Linked DNA regions of Homo sapiens: all the other regions are linked to region 5. The links are contacts of gene promoters, found by promoter capture Hi-C in blood cells and fetal thymus (Javierre and others, 2016). All regions are on one chromosome and are shown on one strand. Each heading gives the region's core, a stretch centred on a gene start or on the middle of the fragment in contact. The rest is flanking DNA. Distances are from core to core; before and after follow the strand shown. Region 1 overlaps LOC124900682 (a long non-coding RNA gene). Region 2 overlaps WDR1 (WD repeat domain 1). Region 3 holds the start of ANAPC4 (anaphase promoting complex subunit 4). Region 4 holds the start of SEPSECS (Sep (O-phosphoserine) tRNA:Sec (selenocysteine) tRNA synthase). Region 5 holds the start of LAP3 (leucine aminopeptidase 3).

Region 1 (2,700 bases), core at 37-2,536, 7.0 Mb after region 5:
TTGGATTATTTGAACCCAGTCCAACTCTAGAGCCGCACTATTGACCATTGTACAGTATCACTATTACCATTTATTTATTCAATCAACAAATATGTATTAAGCTCCCATGTCAGGCATTAAGTGCTGGGGAAAGAGGAAAGAAGAAAATAGCCATAGTTCTTGCCTTCATAAAACGTGGCAGAGGGAGAGAGACAGGCACTGAACAGCTAAACACATAAATAACTATGTTGTTATCACGATGATAAGTGCTGAAAAGGCCAGCTACAGACGACAGGCATTGTGAGAGCATATAACAAGTGGCCTTGATCTACATTGAGGGTTAGGGAATGCCTCTCTGAGAAAGAAACATTTAGACAAAAACCTTAAAAATAAATGCAATCCCAGCACTTTGGGAGGCCAAGGCAGGCAGATCACCTGAGGTCAGGAGTTCAAGACCAGCCTGACCAACATGGAGAAACCCCATCTCTACTAAAAATACAAAATTAGCCGGGCATAGTGGTGCATACCTGTAATCCCAGCTACTCGGGAGGCTAAGGTGGGAGAATTGCTTGAACCCAGGAGGCGGAGGTTGCGGTGAGCCAAGGTCACATCATTGCCCTCCAGCCTGGGCAACAGGAGCAAAACTCCATCTCAAAAAAAAAAAAAAAAAGAATGCAAATTGTCCAGGCAGAGAGGGCAGAAAGCATTCCAAGCAGAGGAAACAGCCTGTGCAAAGGCCCTGAAGCTTTAAAAAGTCAGGTGCGACCCACAGACAGAGAAAACAACATGGATGTGTTGAGATGAGGAATTTGTCATCTGTGATCCTGCAGATGCAAGAACAGGGCATATCATGCCCCATCTGAGGAGTCCTGCTGAGGAGGTAAGCCTTTATCCTTCCTAAAACAAGAGGAAAACAGAAATGAGATTTAAGTGGGAAAACAACATGATCACTCATGAGGATTTGCCAGGATCAATCCACCAGTCTCCCTCTTTGAATCCTCTTTAGCAACAAAATGCTTACAAATTTGAAAGAATTTTCAGTACTATTTTTAATCACCTTATCCTCTCTCTAGTAAGAGACAGAAATAGTTACAAACTATAGTGGTGCTATGGCTTGCCATCAAAATCTCACTTTCATAATGAGACATCCCTCAGCTCTGGGAGTGCTTGCCACCTGCACACGATCCTCGTGTCAGCCCTCTTCAGAAACTTCCATGGCTAAAGAAAGCTGCCATGCCCAGGGGCAGCCTGAATACATTCTACAGGTATAAAGGCTTGGCCTGTCTACCAACTTAGGACAACTGTGAGCTTCAGAGCATCTGAACCCTCTGTGGGATCAGCTGAAGTCTTTGTTATAATGGCATCTGATGTACCCCAATGCAATTTGGCCAGTAACAATCCAGAGTTACCTCCAATCCCACAAGTTAAGGCCACAGTCCCAAGCAAGACTGAAGATGTCCCCACTCCAGACACCATCCATAAGTTCAGGGGTCTGCAGGCCACCAGCACTCCGGCCCAACTGGCTACAAATTCAGAGTTTCTCACAATTCCATCATATTTGATAATTTACTAGAATAACTTATAAAACTCAGGAAAGCACTATACTTATGGTTGCTGTTTTATTATAAAGGAAACAAATCAGAGCGTCTGTGTCCTCTCCCCATGGAATTAGAACATGTGACCCTCCCTCACATCCATGTCCTTACAAACTAGGATGTTCCACTGAGCTTCAGTGTCTGCAGTTTTTATTGGGGTTTCATTATGTAGCCATGATTGATTGACTGAATCATTGGCTCCATGATTCAACTCAATTTCCAGCCTCCTTTCCCTGCTTAAAGGTCAAGAGATTGGGCTGATAACATGTGGCTCAAAGCTTCAACCCTTTAATCACATGGTTGGTCTTTCTGGGATGACCAGTTCCCATCCTGAGTTATCTCCTTAGCACTAATTCAGATGTCGTCCAAGGGCCCAACATAAAGAGAGTAACTCTTTAGGGAATAAAGGGAATACATAAACCTAAAGAGAATAAAGGGAATACATAAAGAGAATAAAGGGAATATATAAACCAGGATACACAAACCAGGAAGTCACTGCATATTCACTAAAGAGAGCAACAAAGATACTCTTATGACTTGGGAGACCCCAAGGATTTAAAATGAACCAATCCCGTGAACCAGGGATAAAGGCCAGTCAAATTCATTGTCATGCAACAGCATCACAGTCAACTTTTCCTTATCTGATTCTACTTTTATCTTTTCTTTCCACTGATATTGATCCTAAATGTACTTCTTAATAAACATTCTAAATGCTAATCTTTGCCTCAGAGTCTAGTTTTCATGGAAGCCGACCTAAAAGATTTGGTGCCAGAAGTGGTGCCAGAAAGAAAGCAGACATTATGATTGGATTTTGGAGTTGGTCACCCATTGCTGGCTGGCAATGAATCTGTGGTGGAGGTAGGACACAAGGAAGCAGGGCAATTGTTAAAACTTTCACCTGTAGCTTACTGGGAAAAAAGCATGTGGTGTACTGCAAAAGGCATGCAGTTCTCACATATGGGGGAACTGGTAACTATAAGCTCCCTAGAATTTGATGGCTATTGCTAAGTAGAATTAATATTTTGGGGAGAGATAATGAAAGGCTGGAAGTTATTTATCTGCAATTCAAAACTAAGCATGAAAACCAGAAATCCTATGAGGGAGCATATAAAAAGGTTTTCATTTC
Region 2 (2,700 bases), core at 34-2,533, 7.5 Mb before region 5:
GAACAGAAGGAATGGAGAAGCAGTCAAGCTTCCAGCTCTCCACATCAACAGATATGGGGTGAAAGGGGTGTACAAAGAAACACTGAAGCTAAAACCGTGAAGAAAACCGCAGAAGCATACCACTTGCCTACGTATCTACTGCCTGCCTACCTATCTCTGGGTGATAGAATTTCATGTTACTTTAATTCGTTCTCCTTAGTCTATGACTGTACAACAAGGTGATTTTTTTCCTTTTCTGCTTTTCTGTACTTTCCATAATACAGAACAAATATATCAGTGAAACAGATACACAAAAGGTGGATTAGAGCAAGAAGCCCTGGTTCTAATCCCTCCCATTTGTGGGAAGCTGCATTCATTCCAGCGCTCTGTTCTCTTCCGTGTTTAGGACCAGCTCTCCTGGCTGCCAATCAATGTTGGACCCCAAACTCAGCGCCTGGCTGTGCTGTGCAGGAGCAGAGCAGGACACGCTGTGGGAGCCCTCTCTATCAAAAACTTGGGTTTGGAAAGGAAAGTCGATTCCCCACTCCCTTGCATAGCACAGATCAAAGGCTGGGTGGACTTTGTGGCAAAAATGGGGCCAACATTTGAGACTAGAAGCATCTTCAGCAATGAGGTTTCAACATGTAATGTGCTAAAAGTAGATCCCTGCGCCTCCCTCCCGGCATACACACACACGCAGGGCCTCAGTGAAACAGAAACACACACACACACTGGGCTGCTCTCAATCTGTCTCCACAGTGAAGCTTTCTTTCAGGAGGGAATAAAGACATGGCCATCTAATCTCTGCTACCTACTGTCAGCTTTTTACAAACCAAGTGCTCTTTGAAAGAGGCAGCTTCCCGCCAGCTTGAGGCTTAGGACACACCAGACTCCTGTGAGGGTGCCCGGGCACCCCTAGCATGACCCCACCTGCTGCCACCCCACCCCTCATCTCCCTTAGACCCCTCCTCAAGACCTGAGGGGCCCCCATCTCACGAGACTGAGACCACAGAAGTACAGACCCTGATTCCTGCCCACCTTCTGCCATCCTGTTTAAGCTCCACGTCTGTGTGTAGTCTGTGCCCTTGGCCAGCACCTCTCCCTGCCTACGGACACCCACTCACCCATCAGGCCTAACGGAAGCGTTCCCTCCTCCATGAAGCCTCCAAGTATGGCCCAAGCTATCCGTATCAACTCTTCTGTGCTTCCAGATCATTTAACATGTCCACCGGGATGGCACAACACACATCATAGTCCCTAGCATTCCTGTCCATCTCCTCCAACTCTGCTGTGCCCTGCTTAACATGACCTTTATCTCACTAGCCATCTCAATAAGTGGTTTGGGGGAGAAAAAAAGAAGTACACACAGACCTTCTCTTTCATCCCTAAGACTTAACACAGCATTATGTGATATAATAGACACCAGTCATAAATTAATCCATTTTGGGATAATCGTTCGCCAGTGAAATTAGAATGTATCAAGGTGTCTATCCAAAGAAGATACTACGAATGACAAGTAAGCACATGAAAAAGCGCTCAGTGTCATTAGTCTTGGGAAATGCAAGTCAAAACTACAACAGAATACCACTCCATACTCACTAGAATCAATAAAAAGAAAAGACTGACATCACCAAGTGCTGGCAAGGGTAGAGGGGTGGGGACACTGGAATGTTCACACTGCTGGTGGAAATGCAAAATGGTACAGTTGGAAAAGAGTTGGGCAGGTTATTTATAAACCTAAACAGACACTACTCACACCAAACACCAGCAACCCCACTCCTAGGTATCTGCCCTGGAGAAATGGAAGCATGTGTCCACCAAAAGACACAGGAGCAATGTTCACAGAAGCTTTCTTTGCAATGGCCAAAAACTGGAAATACCCAAATATCCATCAACAGGTGAACAGAGAAACAGGCAACACACCGCACTGCTTAGTGATAGAAAGGAACAAAGTGCAAATGCACTCAACACCAGCTATCAATCGCCAACATGTTATGCAAAGTGAAAAAGCCAGACAGAAAAGACTACACATTGCCTCTCACTTCATATGAAAGAAGATTTTAGAAAAGGCAACCCCAATGACAGAAAGCAGATAAGCAGCTGCTGGGGGTGAGGGTGGAAGGGGTGGCGGGGGCGGGGGGCACCCTCCGGAGTGACAGGAATGTTCTGTCATGACAGGGGTGGTGCTTATGGGACTATATAGGTCATCTGTCAAGATCCAAGCCACACACTGAATACAGACAAATTCTACTGTATCTAAAGTACACCTCAATAAAACTAAGATGCTGGCTATTTATTAAATGTCTGCCCAATCCAACCCTCTCCCACTCCAATTAGTCCTTCATATTCTGACACTGACACATCCCTACCCAAAGCACCTGGCAAGAAAATGATCCACTTAACAGGCAGCCCCTCCAAGACCCTGTTCGGTGTACACTCACAGCTGACTGGGGATGGGGGAGGTCTCACGCTCACATACAGGGGCACCTGCCCATCCCGCCAGACAGATGGCCTCGTGGGCTCTCCCAGCCTGGACGACCTCCTCCCCAGGCCGTGCTGCCGTAGAAAGGGTGGGGCTCCCATGGGCCTTCCGCTGGGGAGGGCATCCAGAGATGGAAGATGCCTGGGCAGGGGCATGAGAGGAAGTTCTGCCCCTAAAAATTCCTTCCCCTAAATGGTCAGGGCTGTGTGTAAAAACCCCAAAGGGCAACAGAATCCTGC
Region 3 (2,700 bases), core at 24-2,523, 7.8 Mb after region 5:
CATTGCTGTAGCCTCAGTTCCTCCACATAGTAAATGCCCAAGTACCTATAGAAGAAATCGTGTGTGAGCCCACACTCTTTTTTTATATTTTAGAGACGGAGTCTGGCTCTGTTGCCCAGGCTGGAGTGCAGTGGCACAATCTCGGCTCACTGCAAGCTCCGCCTCACTGCAAGCCCCGCCTCACTGCAAGCTCCGCCTCACTGCAAGCTCCGCCTCCCGGGTTCACGCCATTCTCCTGCCTCAGCCTCCCCAGTAGATGGGACTACAGGTGCCCGCCACCATGCCTGGCTACTTTTTTGTATTTTTTAGTAGAGACGGGGTTTCACCATGTTAGCCAGGATGGGCTCTATCTCCTGTCCTTGTGATCCGTCCGCCACGGCCTCCCAAAGTGCTGGGATTACAGGCGTGAGCCACCGCGCCCGGCCCTGAGCCCACACTCTTTATTCGTTATGACGGTGCTGCAACTACCAATAAGTTGTGAGGGTTAAATGGGATGAGATGTCACAGTATTATTTGCCTGTTAGGGAGGTTTTAGGGCACGCGCCTCTTCTCTCCAAATTGGAATCACCCAAAGAGTTTTAGTAAATACTGGGCCCATCCAGGGTTAATTTTCTTCTAATTGGTTTGGGGTGCTGCTTGGACAGGGGGACTTTTAAAATTCTATACTGACCCACCAGGACTGACATGAGAACTACTCGCTTAGTAACTGTTAGAGGAGGCGCCAGCTGATCAGGACCTAAAGTTCATATTCTTTTTCATCTCCCCGTTGTCGCTGAAGCCTACCCCATAAACCCCTACCGTCCCTTTGCCCACAGCAGAGAATTTCCGGGAAAACGGGAAAGGTATGCAAGCATGCCCACACACGTGCACACACGGGTTCCCAAAAGACCTGCGTGTGGCCGCAGGGGCCTGCCCCGCCCTTCTCGGGCCCTTTCAGGTCCCGGCGCCCAGCGATCCCACCAGCACCTGGGTCCGGCGCGCGGCTCCCTCCCTCTCCGCGCCCCTCGGGGCTCCCTGCCCCGCCCGCGTGCCCCACCCTTCCTAGCTCTGCCCCATCGCTGCTCCCTGCCCCGCCCACGGGCCCCATCCTACCCCCACCTCGATCCGCCCCTCGCTCCTCCCTGCCCCGCCCACCGCGCCCCGTCCCTGTCCGCCCCTTCTGGCTCTCAGCACCCCCAAGACCGGTGCGCGCCCCGCCCCTCCTCCTCCTCTCGCGAGGCAGTCCCGACGCCGGAAGTGCCTGGAGCGCGCGACAGCGGCGGGGCGGGGCGGCCTGGAGGCTGTGGCGCGCGGCCGGCAGAGGGAGGGGAGAGGCCACTGGGGCCGTGTTAGTCTGCCGGTGGGGACTCTTGCAGGTACAGGCGCGGTCGGGGCTCCTCGTGGAGAGCCGGGGGCTCCTGCCGGCCTCTGACTGGGGTGTCGTTGCAGGGCCGTCCCCATGTTGCGTTTTCCGACCTGTTTCCCATCCTTCCGGGTGGTGGGAGAGAAGCAGCTCCCGCAGGAGATTATTTTCCTGGTCTGGTCGCCCAAGCGGGATCTCATTGCTTTGGCCAACACAGCTGGCGAGGTGAGTGAGCCGGCGGGAGCCCGCCTGTGCTGGGTCTGCTCCCGGGGGGCCCAAGAACACCGAGCCCGAGCCTGTTCATTCGGGCCACAGGCGGCCGGAGCCTCAGTTTCCCCTTCTGCAGACATGGCTGGCCACCTGCTACCCCTTCCCTGCCTCCCAGGACGGCAGTAAACTTTAAGTATATATGCGAAAGGTGATGTCTGTGCTATTTTCGGTACTTTTATGGCTAAAGTAACAGTTTTCACACAGCTTAACACCGTCACGCAATCCTGCTTCCCCAAGTCTTCTTCACTCATTGGTTTATTAGTTAAATGAACTTTTTAAAAAAGCCCACTATGTGCTGCTCATGAGCTAGACATAATGGTAGATGCAGGGACCCTGCCCTAAGTTTGCTTACAGTTTTAATAGCAGTAGGAAGAGTTATTGTCAAACTTCAGCTGCAAATGTGCCTGCATGTAGCTGCCACACAGGATATATTTAAGAACCTGGCTTCTCTTGTCCACGTTTTATAGTACGGGTTGGATAACCACCCTCCACTAAAAATACCTCTAAATTGGACAAGGAAGGCATGCATTGGATTCCAGACAGAACGTGCATGGGTGTTATCAGCATTTCTTGTTCACATAAAACTTCATCGAGTATAAACCAGTTGTACCCAACTTTCTGCTGAGAGTTATTACCTGCCAGCCATTTTGTAAGGAAACCTTCACCTGTGCATCTTTCCGCCTCTGGCTTGAGAGTTATCTGGCCATGTGAGAGTTGTATAGAGCCAAATTTGGAAACTAGGTGATAAGGAAATCTTAGCACCCTGCAGACTGTAGTCTGCACCATGTTATCTACCATGATCCAGTCGCCAGGGTATTGATGTCTAATTTTTCAGGGCCCTCCATGAAATCTAGCTAGTCTCCCTCCGCTGCCGGGATGCTTTGAAACTCTGTTGTGGCTCTAGAGAGCAGCAGGTGGTACCGTCACAGAAGTAGGAGGGAAGGTAGACGGGAGGCACATCCGTGCAATCAGATGGGTAGGCGTGATAGAGGGCACTGTTACATCCATTTTCTCAGTGAAGGAAGAAGCAAGGGCATTGTTTATGGGTGAAGATGGAGAAGAATATATTGGAAGTTTGAGGAGAAAGA
Region 4 (2,700 bases), core at 189-2,688, 7.6 Mb after region 5:
CACAATTGCCTAAGAAATTGTTGCTGTCCATGATTGCAAGTTCATGTAAAAAGAGTTCAAGTGTACTTTCATCCCAGCCATTCTCTGGACACTTGCCCTTAAAAAAAAAAAAAAACTTATGATTATATTTAATAAAACTACCGTTCTCTAGAATACTACAGGAATACAGTTTTTCTTTTTAACGTGTATTTTGCCACGCTGCTTGTTTTCTAAAATTCAAGCATAAATTCACCACTGTATAGAGACCGCAAAGAGGCAAAACGTTTGTACATTTGATTACAATTATTTACAGATTTCGAGAAGTGATGATAAATGCATACAATGAGGTTTACTGAGATATTTAAATTTCCGTAAGTGAAACTAACTGAAAACCAATACAACACATCCCCAGTGAAGATGCTTCAAACCAGGGCGTTACGACTGGGGCGGTGGGACGTGGAGAAGGGCGGTAGTTGTCAAACTTCAGTGAAATTTTGGCCACGCGCTGTAGCTCACTCACGCCTGTAATCCGAGCACTTTGGAAGGCCAAGAATGGCCGATCACTTGAAGTCAGGAGTTTGAGATCAGCCTGGCCAACATGGTGAAACCCCATCTCTACTAAAAATACAAACATTAACCGGGTGTGGTGGCGGGCGCCTGTAGTCCCAGCTACTCGGGAGGCTGAGGCAGGCGAATGGCGTGAACCCGGGAGGCGGAGGCTGCAGTGAGCCGAGATCGTCACACTGCATTCCAGCCTGGGCGAAAGAGCGAGACTCTGTTTCAAAAAAACAAAACACAACAAAACTTTTAATGAAATTAAAATACATGAACGCTGGCAGGAGGGAGACCTGTGAAGTTCCGCGGAAAGCTCGTGGTTCGAGTTAGCATACAGTCTACAAACACCATTATGTGTTCTGAGTCGTTGAGGGTTGGTGAAAGATGGAGGTGCGAACTTTGCCCTTTCCGCGAATAAAAAAGTACACTGGGACTTTCCCTCACTTCCGCATCCCGAAGTTAGAAACAGCGGGACTCAAAACCCCGACCCCAACACCCCCTCCTAACAACACCATTTGGCTTTCACTGGCTTTGGCAAGGCTGAGAAGGCACAGACCGCAGTCGGTCAGCTAGGGCAAGCCAAGCTGAGACAGACTTGGGACTAGTCTCAAGCAGCGAAGAGCTGCCGGTGAGGCAGCACCAGCGGGGACGCCCGGCGGAGCCAGAGCCCCGGGGTCGCGGCGGCTGGGGAGGGGACCGACAGCTCGGTACCTTCTCCAGAAGCAGCCGTATGAGGTGCTCATGCGAGCGGCGGGCCTCACAGCCCTGCCGCACGTAAGCCGGCGACACCAGCCGCTCTCCCGCCGCGAAGCTCTCGCGGTTCATGACAGCGGTGGCGACAGTGGCGAATAAGCGGGAGCACTAGCTCCACACGCCAGACACACGACGGAACCAGAATGCAACTCGCCGCCTGGACGGTACGGCAGCGCCTTGGGACAAAAAACAAAACAAAACAAAACAAAACAAAAAAAACACTTCTCGTTCGTGCACATGCGCAGACCTTCTCAGATGGCGCTCCAGGAGGAAGTTGGCGTATTTGAGCATGCGCGAGGGAGTCCGCGCTTTTCGCTGACTTTTGGCAAAGGAAGGACTGAAATTAGCCCCGCCCCGCTGCGGCTGATTCGTCTAGTTAAACCCTGGTGTTCCTGACACAAACTTCAGGAAAGGATTTTGCACTTGTGCAGACCGGGCGAGCAGAGTAAGAAGCAGGTACGTGGGTTTTTCCAAGTTCTGTGTTTCAGTCCTGTTGGATGGTTGAGATCTGTGCAGGGTCTGTGCTTCCGCCTTATTCAAACTGTCAGATGCCAGAACCTTCGATCTTTACTTTGATACATTTCCACACTTATTACTGCCTCACAACCCCATAGGAAATAGCAGTGCCCCACTCATTTTCCCCTTGACACTACTGTTTAGCCATAGCACTTACTACTCACCACGTGACATGCCAGACGTTTGTTTATACACACACACACACACACCCATACCCATGAATGTAAACTCTCTAACCTAACGGCAGGACCTCGGTTTTTGCTGCGGTGCCCCCTTCCCCCGGGCACCTAAAACAGTGCCCAGAATAAAGTAGGGCCTAAAAAAAAAGTTGATATTGAATTAATGAATTAGTTTGACCATTCTGAAACTATCCCCAAGAACATTTTGTAAAATTGATTAAGGAGGGGAAAAAAATCCAACTAGGCTTACAGCTGCTGTTATTAAGCCAGCTTGCAGTGTGGCCGACTTTCTTGTAGCTGGTTGCTACTTACTACCCCAGGAGAATGTGGCCCTTGTCACAAGACTCTTCATTCTTTTTCTGCTCTGAAGATAAAATCTAAGACATTATGAGAAGATAAGCTTTCTGTTTGCATTGCTTCTTTAGGTCCCGCATACCAACAAAACTAAGGACGCCAACTTGTCTGGAAGGCCCAATAAAAAGCTGATTCATGGAGGAATGCAATTGTCACATCCTAATGATTTCATCTCCCTTACCCCAACGAATCGATAACCCCAAATTTTCCAGCCCCTCACCCTCCACAAATCCCCTTAAAAAACTTTGCCTAGAACCCCTTGATGAAATGGATTGAAGCTTGAGAACTCTTCCTGTTTCCTGGCTTGTAACTTGTGATTATTAAAACTTTCTCTGCTGCAAGCCTGCTGTCGGAATACTGGTCT
Region 5 (2,700 bases), core at 201-2,700:
GTTCTAGGCAGAAATATAGTTATAATTAAGCATTAATCAGGCTGTACTTTGGCCCACTTCCTTGTTGCTAAAAGTCACCTAGCACTACATACTGACCATTTGCATTCCCATTGTTCCTATAGACAGGATCTCTGACATTAGAATCATAAGCTTTCTGTTTAAGGATCGCTTAAGATATTTTTCAGACCTTGAATTCCAGCTACCAGTTTGAAGATCCCCAGAGAGGAATGGGGTCAGCTTAAGAATACAGGTTCTTCAACGCCCTGTCCCATGACTTCACCCTGCACTCTTCAATCAACGATCTCCACACTATAGCCCTCTCCAAAACCCTTAAAAACCTTGACCCCAAATTCCTCAGGGAGATGGATTTGAGGTTTCCTCCCATCTCCTCCTTTGGCGACTCCACGATTACACCTCTTTCTCTGCTGCAACCCTGGTGTCTGGGCGTATTGACTTGCTATGTGCACGAGTCAACGAACCTAATAGTGTTACATCATTTTCAAAAACAGTATTTACACCGTTGCACCTGTGGAACAGATGAAAGGACACGAATAAAAATAACTCAGGCCAGGTGCGGTGGCTCACGCCTGTAATCCCAGCACTTAGCGAGGCCGAGGCAAGTGGATCACGAGGTCAGGACTTCGAGACCAGCCTGGACAACATGGTGAAACCTCGTCTCTACTAAAAATACAAAGAGTTGCCGGGCACGGTGGCTCACGCCTGTAAGTAATCCCAGCACTTTGGCAGGCTGAGGCGGGTGTATCACCAGAGGTCAGGAGTTCAAAGCCAGCCTGGCTAACATGGCCAAACACTGTCTCTACTAAAAATACAAAGATTAGCCAGGTGTGGTGGTGGGCGCCTGTAGTCCCAACTACTCGGGAGGCTGAGGCAGGAGAATCTGTTGAACCCGAAAGGCGGAGGTTGCAGTGAGCCGAGATTGCGCCACTGCACTCCAGCCAGGGCTACAAGAGCGAGACTCCGCCTCAAAAAAAAAATCCAAAAAAACAACAAAAAAACACAAAGATTAGCTGGGCGTGGTGGCGGGCGCCCCTAATCCCAGCTACTCGGGAGGACGAGGCAGGAGAATCGTTTCAACTAAGCAGCGGGAGGTTGCAGTGAGCCGAGATCGCTCCATTGCACTCCAACCTGGGTGACAGAGCGAGACTCCGACTCAAAAAAACCAAACAAACAAACGAAAACTCAGTGGGAGTGTCTTCACTATGCAGTCGTCTATTCAGCAACCTTGACAACAAGCTCTGGCACTCAGTTTCTATTTCCCGGGAGTTGCCCAGCGCTCCGCCCACGCCCGCTTGCAGAACTCGCCCCGCCTCCGCCCCACCCATCGTGTGACGTCACCATATCGGTCCCGCCCCTCTACTTCGCGTTGCTCCCGGGACTGTCAACCGCGTCCGGAAGCCCCGCCTTTTCGCCCCCGCCCGCATGCGCGGGCGCACACGAATGCGGGCGCACACGAATGCGGGCGCACACGAATGCGGGCGCACCCTTGAGTCCCCTCCACAACCGCGGTTTGATCCCAGCGGTCCAGTCGGCCGGTGCTGCCCATCCGTCCCGCCCCCTAGACGCACGTCCGCTCGCCCGGCGCCCGAGCCAGTCCGCGCGCACGCCGTCTGCGCCCCGAAAGCCCCGCCCCAAGGCGCGCCCGCCCACCGCTCTCCACGTGCTCGCTGGAGGGCGGTGCGAGGGGCCGAGCCGACAAGATGTTCTTGCTGCCTCTTCCGGCTGCGGGGCGAGTAGTCGTCCGACGTCTGGCCGTGAGACGTTTCGGGAGCCGGAGTCTCTCCACCGCAGACATGACGAAGGTGAGAGGCGGCGGCTCGCTCATGGTCCGCCGCTGGGGCCCTGCCCGTGGGCTACTGGGGCTGCGGGGCTGGTCGAAGCCGCGGTGTCCTGGGCGCCCAAGCCAAGTTGCAAAAATCAGTTTAAAAGAAAAATTCTCTCCTTGCGGGGATCGGCCTAGGCCGCTGAGGACCCCAGCGGTCGTATTGAGGGCGCGATTCCCCTGCTCGGGGCTAGGGGGTGATGGTTGTAGCCGCCCTTTACCCGGCTCCACTCGGCCGCGCACTTGCTCCAGTCGTCACCCGCGGTCCTGGCAGTAACCCGGGGAAAGACGCGGCGGTGGGGCTCCCATCCGAGCTTGGAGGAAGCCCGAGTTTGCCAAGGTGAAAGGGTTTCTGAGGTCCCAGAGTCACAGGGCTCCTTCCCCCGCGGAAGTGAAAGGTCAGGGAGTTAAGTAGCTTGGAAGGGTTTCTAGAGGAAAAGCATGCCTCTCTAGAGAAAAGGGCTTTGGGGAGAGACCCACGTTTCCCAGAATTAAGAGCATCTTCCAGAAGAAAAGTGAACTCCAAAAAATTACGAAGGTCGCTCTTCAGATGTGAAGGATCTGCAAAGGGAATGGCTCTCGGAACCAGCACAAGCTTGGGAGTCATGCCTAAGCACCAGAAAGAGATGACTGTCCCTGCAGAAGAACGTTCTAGGGGGAGCTTGAGCTCCAGTCTCCTGCAGGTATCTCAGTGGTGGAGGGACCAGTCGCCTGACCAGTGCTATCTCCAGTACTGTGCCACAGCCTACCCAGATAACAGTTGCTCAGTTGGCTCCATTGATTCCCGGGGAGTGAACAATCTTAGGGAAGTTAGAACCTGGCAGAGTTACCAATGCCAAGGAAGGCCGTTTTCTTTGGTG

Evidence for each region. The method cuts DNA at HindIII sites, captures the fragments that hold promoters and counts their contacts. A CHiCAGO score of 5 or more calls a contact.
Region 1: a fragment that was not itself captured here is called in contact with the fragment with the promoter of LAP3 in region 5 in 1 of 17 cell types (non-activated CD4 T cells); the score reaches 5.8 in non-activated CD4 T cells.
Region 2: a fragment that was not itself captured here is called in contact with the fragment with the promoter of LAP3 in region 5 in 2 of 17 cell types (neutrophils and activated CD4 T cells); the score reaches 7.8 in neutrophils.
Region 3: a contact is called between the fragment with the promoter of ANAPC4 here and the fragment with the promoter of LAP3 in region 5, in 2 of 17 cell types (total CD4 T cells and activated CD4 T cells). The highest score is 8.6, in total CD4 T cells.
Region 4: the fragment with the promoter of SEPSECS here is called in contact with the fragment with the promoter of LAP3 in region 5 in 2 of 17 cell types (non-activated CD4 T cells and total CD8 T cells); the score reaches 6.5 in non-activated CD4 T cells.

What each region holds. Positions count from the first base shown.
Region 1 is chr4:24,588,530-24,591,229 of GRCh38, forward strand. It overlaps LOC124900682 (a long non-coding RNA gene), which reads right to left. Exons shown (of 2, transcript XR_007058078.1): 2 at 58-876. Among named protein-coding and RNA genes, the nearest start is that of DHX15, 5.3 kb to the left of the region's middle. The HindIII fragment of the contact is 1,128 bases long and covers 723-1,850 here.
Region 2 is chr4:10,104,009-10,106,708 of GRCh38, forward strand. The region is part of intron 2 of WDR1 (WD repeat domain 1); the gene reads right to left. Among named protein-coding and RNA genes, the nearest start is that of WDR1, 11 kb to the right of the region's middle. The HindIII fragment of the contact is 1,084 bases long and covers 742-1,825 here.
Region 3 is chr4:25,375,990-25,378,689 of GRCh38, forward strand. It overlaps ANAPC4 (anaphase promoting complex subunit 4), which reads left to right and starts at 1,274. Exons shown (of 29, transcript NM_013367.3): 1 at 1,274-1,355; 2 at 1,429-1,567. The coding sequence starts at 1,439. RefSeq lists a silencer at 977-1,396 and enhancers at 1,517-1,576, 1,607-1,676. The HindIII fragment of the contact is 5,076 bases long and covers 1-2,700 here.
Region 4 is chr4:25,159,011-25,161,710 of GRCh38, forward strand. It overlaps SEPSECS (Sep (O-phosphoserine) tRNA:Sec (selenocysteine) tRNA synthase), which reads right to left and starts at 1,439. Exons shown (of 11, transcript NM_016955.4): 1 at 1,246-1,439; 2 at 1-97. The coding sequence starts at 1,359. SEPSECS-DT (SEPSECS divergent transcript) reads left to right here and starts at 1,662. Exons shown (of 2, transcript NR_037934.1): 1 at 1,662-1,743. RefSeq lists a silencer at 1,123-1,292 and an enhancer at 1,403-1,702. The HindIII fragment of the contact is 2,962 bases long and covers 1-2,380 here.
Region 5 is chr4:17,575,748-17,578,447 of GRCh38, forward strand. It overlaps LAP3 (leucine aminopeptidase 3), which reads left to right and starts at 1,451. Exons shown (of 13, transcript NM_015907.3): 1 at 1,451-1,820. The coding sequence starts at 1,719. RefSeq lists enhancers at 1,099-1,458, 1,799-1,998 and a silencer at 1,519-1,728. The HindIII fragment of the contact is 2,285 bases long and covers 149-2,433 here.